2 separate regions of the Homo sapiens genome follow, and region 1 is linked to region 2. The links are contacts of gene promoters, found by promoter capture Hi-C in human tissues and cell types (Jung and others, 2019). All regions are on one chromosome and are shown on one strand. The core of a region is centred on a gene start or on the middle of the fragment in contact, and the rest is flanking DNA. Distances in the headings are between cores, read along the strand shown.

Region 1 (2,881 bases), core at 89-2,588, 140 kb after region 2:
GCAACTGCCTCCTATTAGTGCTGACTTGGCTACTTCCCAAGGGGGAGGAGTATTTGTTTTTGGTGGTGGGCTGGGGAGGTGGATGTGGAAGGGCACTTTATTGGGGTGAGAGCATTGTCCTTTTTGAATAGATTATTAATAGAGCCTTGGATGATGAGAGAGGCAAGGAAGAAGGCAGCAGATGGAGCCAAGGCTGAAGGAGCTGGGAGCAGGAGTGATGAACTGAGAGCAGCTGTTGAGAGACAGCCAGAAGCAGGGGCCTCAGCTCTGGGCCATGGGGCAGAGCATGGGTTTGCAGGCAGGTGGACCAGTTTTGAGGAGCAATCCCCCAGCATCCTGCCTCCCCACCCCTCGCTTGACTTGGCTGCCTGTGAGAAGCTAGTTTTGTTTTGCTTAGGACTGTCCGGTGGTAAGCTGCCACGCTTTCTGGAGAATCTGAACAATATGTCTTTTTTGAGACCTTCTAGATCACTGGTCTTTGACTGGGGCAGGCATAAGTGGGTGCTTGGCAGGATACCCTGGAGAGCTTTCTCCAGGCTCCCATGCTCGAACCCCACCTTGGACCAACTAATTTTGGGTTCTCAGGAAGAAGTCCTGGAGCATATACCTCAGACAGGCTGTTCAGGTGGTTTTGTGGTACACTTCTGGATAGAACCACTGCTCTAGCTCAGGCCCCCTTAGACCAGGTTTTGGAAAACACATCTCTAGGGAGTTTACTACCTATCCAGAAGCCTGTTCCATCTTTGGTTTTGATATTGTGCCTTCCATAGGACATGCCAAATCTCTCAGCTATGTGGGTCCTTCAGCTATTGAAGCCAGCCTCCAGGGTTATGCTCCAGCCTAAATATCCACGATGTTTCTTGATTAATAGTTATTAAACCAACCTATGAATTAGTCCAAGTTGAGGATGGGGTAAGAGAGAGGAGAACAGAAAGATGACATTAAAAAAAAACTCTTACTGTCAGGATAGAACAGGATGTGGCACAATAAAAGTCCTTAAAAGTATATTGATACTGTCTTTTTTTTTCTCCTGATTATAAAAACGATACTTGTTCCCTATGCAAACAGTGAAAACCCATAAAGGAAAATTAAACCCCTAGTAATCCCACCTACCAGATATGACCATTGTTAGTATTTTTGTGGGTGTCTTTCTCATTAAACTCACATTACTCATTAAATTTACAGCTTTGTAAACTTCTTTTTCTCTAACAATATCAAGATATTTTTGGACTTTATTAATATTAACTGATGTTATCATTATTATTTTTTTGAGACAGTGTCTTGCTCTGTTGCTGCAACTGCCTCCTGTTAGTGCTGACTTGGCCACTTCCCAAGAGGGAGGAACAGTAACACACAATCACAGTTCACTGCAGCTTTGACCTCCCAGGCTCAAGTGATCCTCCTACCTCAGCCTCCTCAGTAGCTGGGGCTACAGGCTCATGCCACCATGCCCTGCTATTTTAAAAATTTTTTGTAGAGATGGTGTCTCCCTTTGTTGTCCAGGCTGGTCTCAAACTCCTGGGCTCAAGTGATGCCTTCCAAAGTGCTGGATTACAGGTGTGAGCCACTGCACCTGGCCCATGCCATCATTATTAAAAGCTGCCAACTCTTAGTCCCTGATTATTGGACATTGAGCCTCAATGGTGGACATTCTTCAGGAACTCTGAATTCTTCTTCTTCTTCTTCTTCTTTTTTTTTGAGATGGAGTCTTGGCTCTGTCACCCAGGCTGCAGTGCAGTGGTGCGATCTTGGCTCACTGCAACTCCACCTCCTGGTTTCAAGTGACTCTCCTGCCTCAGCCTCCTGAGTAGCTAGGATTATAAGCATGCACCACCACGTAGGGCTAATTTTTGTATTTTTAGTAGAGACAGGGTTTCACCATGTTGGCCAGGCTGTTCTCAAACTCCTGACCTCAAGTGATCTGCCTGCCTGTGCCTCCCAAAGTGCTGGCATTACAGGCGTGAGCCACCGTGCCCAGCTGTGAATTCTTTTTAACCAAGAAGATTGAATTTAGCCCCTCGCCATAGTCTGACATCCCCATGAGGCCTGACCCTGGCCCATGCCTACCTGCCCTGCTGGTGGCCAGGTCAGATTGGTCTCAGCAGCTTTTGTGTCAGGTTGGTTTGGACCTTGATCTGTAGCCATCTAAGAACTGCTCAGCTCCTTCCTGGACCTGAGATAGAACTTCTTGAGCTTGAGGTCCCATAACTGTTCTCCTCCACTGAGCATCACCAATGATGTGGGCAAGGAGGTTCCCTGTGGGGACCAGCTCTTCAGATCTACCTAGCACCAGAACGGTTAAAACTCATGAAGTACCGCTGAGCTTCTGTGTTTGGTAGAGGCAGTGCTGAACTTGTCCTGTGACCTTGGGAAAGGGACCAACTCTGAGTCTCCATTTTTCCCTCTGTAAAATGGAGATAATAGCTCCTCTCTATCCTGCCTCACAGAGTCAGAAGGATCAAACGAGATGATGTGGGTAAAAAGCTTTGTAAACCACAGTGCATCAGGCAAACCCATGCTATACTTGATAATGGACCTCCCGATAGAGCCCAGAAAAAAAATGCTGACTCAAGTCTCACTTGTTCTCCCAGACAGAGTGGACTCATTGGCTGCATGAGCTTTGGGGTGAAGTCTCTCCTGACTCCAGACAAGGTGGGTCCTAGGGATGCTTCTGTCAGGATCATCCCAACTGGGCCGGGGCTGGTACAGGCAGAGTTTCTCTGTCAGCTCTTGGGCAGGGCTTCTCTCTGTGAGATGGTGCCCCACTGAGACAGGTGCCCTGTGGGGTGGCCTGCATAGCAGCACTGTGTTTATTACCTGCCTAGCTGAGAGTTTGGGTCCCCTTCTTGGTTTGTCTTGCCAGAGAGCAGTTTGTTAGGCA
Region 2 (2,883 bases), core at 384-2,883:
ACACCACTGTGTACCGCTCTGGGTAGCTCTGGGGCTGTTAGCTGCCCTTACCCCTCAGGTGCTAAAGCAGTAGTGGCTGAGAAGGAAAGGGTTCTATCTCCTTTGTGTGGCCATTGCTTAGAGAAGCTTCAGAGTAGAGGTGCTAGAGCCCCTGTGAGCTATGGGATGTAATGTTTCTCTTTCGGTTTAGCTCCCGCCTGTGTTCAGTTCTGATGCACTCAGAGTACTCTCTGACACCTGAAGGCCTGGGCCCTTCCCCTTTTGAGAGAGTGCCCAGCTTTCTGCCAAGACTCCTAAGAAAGAATTTGGGGTTGGTGGCCGGGCGCGGTGGCTCACACCTGTAATCCCAGCACTTTGGGAGGCTGAAGGGGGGAGATGGCTTGAGCCCAGGAGTTTGAGATCAGCCTGGGCAACATGGCAAAACCCTGTCTCTACGAAAAATACAAAACTTAGCTGGGCACGGTGGCATGTGCCTGTAGTCCCAGCTACTCAGGAGGCTGAGGTGGGAGGATCACTTGAGCTGGGGAGGTCGAGGCTGCAGTGAGCTATGATTACACCACTGCACTCCAGCCAGGGTGACACAGTGAGACCCTATCTCAAAAAAATAAAAAAAAATAAAAAAAAAAAAGAAGAAGAAGAATTTAGAGCTGGAGAGCAGCGTTCTCCTTGTATGCCCAGACAGACTAGACTGGATCCCCAGCAGAGGGCTCAATCTGGGCTCAGACTAATATATAAGATCCTGAGGGTGGGAAAAGCCCTAAACAGCTCAGGAACATGTTAGCAGTTTTTCTTTCTGGGGTGGGAGTGGGTGGATTTTTCTTCCACATGCTTATTTGCATATTTTGTTTTCTTCGAAATAAAAAGGCATTACTTTTTTTCAATGCTAGTTTAAAAAGAAAACTCAAATATTCAAATTCAAAAAGTTTGGATGTAAATACTTTGGGAAAATCAGCCTAATACAGATATTTCTCACTGGGCCTCAATGTTCAATTTAAAAAATTATTAATTATAGTAACCTTAAGTCACACTGCCTAGGTTCCAATCTCATAGCTACCAATTAGTAACTGTGACCCTTGGCAAGCCACTTAACTTCCATAAAAATGGGATCCTAATAGTACTTTCCTCGCACTGTTAGTAGACACTTAGCGATTGCAGCTGCTATGTTCCAGATATTGTTTTACGTATTTAGCGTATTTACTCCTCAGACGTCTGGGAGGCAGGTACTCTCACCCCATTTTACAGCTGGAGTTCCCACCCAGTGAGCAGCCAAACGGGATTTGAACCAGGCAGTTTCTCAGCAGAGCCTTGCTTGAAGCTAGGCATCTAAAGCTGCCTCTCAAAAAGGGCAGTGGTCGGGATTACATAACAGAACGCTTGCAAAGCTCTCAGCGAAAGCCTGGCACTTAATAAGTGCTCAATAAAGTTTCCTACGGTCACAGTAATATTTGGAGTTTTATGTTTGTTGTAGAACAAATACGCATACAATCGCGATTTCATTCAACAAGGAATTTAAAGAGACCTGCTGCCCCGGGCGGGATGGGAGCGCGGGTTGGGTGGGAGGAGGCGCAGCTGCGGGGCGCGCTGGCGCACCGGGAGGGCCGGGGGCGGGGTCAGCCAGGCCCCGCCCGCCGCCACCTGCGACAGGTGGAGCGCACGGGGCGGGCGCACGGCCATGTCCGCCGAGGGCGCGGAGCCGGGGCCGGGGTCCGGGTCCGGGCCCGGGCCGGGGCCACTCTGCCCCGAACACGGCCAGGCTCTGAGCTGGTTCTGCGGCTCCGAGCGACGGCCCGTGTGCGCCGCCTGCGCGGGGTTGGGCGGTCGCTGCCGGGGGCACCGCATCCGCCGGGCGGAGGAGCGCGCCGAGGAGCTGCGGGTGAGCGGGTGTGGGCGCCGGAAGGCGAGGGCTCCGGAGACCCCGGGCGCGCCTGGCGGGACCCGGCAGGGACTGGGGAGCCTGGGGCTGGGCGGACTCGACACCCGGCCCCGGAGCCTAGGCTCCTCGGTGGCTTTGGCTGTAGGACTAGGCGGTTAAGGGTGTGGCCTCTGAAGTCAGGCTGGCCTGAGTTCGAATCTACTCCCTGTGAGTCACGTAACTCTGAGCCTCAGTGTCTTCATCTGTAGTTTGGGGACAACAACAATAATAATAGCGCGTATTTATTAGAGTTGTGAGAAATAAATAAGATAGTGGGTAAAATGCTTAGCGATAAGGGGATCCAGGCTCCCCAGGCCCCTTCCATTGCTCTGTTGAGGAAGCTGGGGCTGGCATGAAAGGCTCAGCTGCTCCAGTTCTCAGCGCAGGGTGTGCCCCAGCTCCCGCCCCTGTGGAAACTGACACTGATAAAATCCAGCGCGACCGTATCCCTTAACCCCTGGACTCAAAGCCCCCCTCCTCCTTTCGCCTCTTCCCCCTGCTCCTAACCCCTTCTGGCTTCTGGTGCGGTGATCTCTTTTTCGCTTTCAGGATTGGCCTTGACTGTACTTCAGGCTGGTTTAAGGGCTTCAGCTGGATAAACGGTGGGGGTAGGGAGAATATCAGGGGATTCCCCTTCACCCAGGCTTTCTCGCCACCTCCACTTCCAGCTCGGCTCCAGGGTGGCCACCTCCTTGTCATCACCATTCTCCTGAGCTGCTGAGATTGGGAGAGTCGAAGTCACCTTGGGCTTCTCTGTGGCCCCTGGGGATTTCCTTGCAATTTGATTAAACAGCTTGTTTCTCCCAACCCGACTCTGCAGTTCACCCCTGCTGTGAAGCCTGAGGGCTCTGGCTGGGGACTTCGCCTACCCAGAGTGACCTGTAATAAACACATCTTATATAGGGTGCTGGGCTCGGGAGGGGTTCAGTTTTTCAGCAACACCCAAAAGCTCCTGGTTCGTCCTACCTGTT

What was found. Contacts are between HindIII fragments. The study calls those that stand out against the background at their distance.
Region 1: a contact is called between a fragment that was not itself captured here and the fragment with the promoter of BSPRY in region 2, in 2 of the 25 tissues and cell types used here (heart left ventricle and mesendoderm cells).

Annotation. Positions count from the first base shown.
Region 1 is chr9:113,493,195-113,496,075 of GRCh38, forward strand. RGS3 (regulator of G protein signaling 3) reads left to right here. Exons shown (of 23, transcript NM_001394167.1): 6 at 2,592-2,652. Among named protein-coding and RNA genes, the nearest start is that of RGS3, 31 kb to the left of the region's middle. The HindIII fragment of the contact is 6,530 bases long and covers 1-2,881 here.
Region 2 is chr9:113,347,908-113,350,790 of GRCh38, forward strand. BSPRY (B-box and SPRY domain containing) reads left to right here and starts at 1,634. Exons shown (of 6, transcript NM_017688.3): 1 at 1,634-1,873. The coding sequence starts at 1,673. RefSeq lists silencers at 1,602-1,671, 1,702-1,981. The HindIII fragment of the contact is 5,403 bases long and covers 1-2,883 here.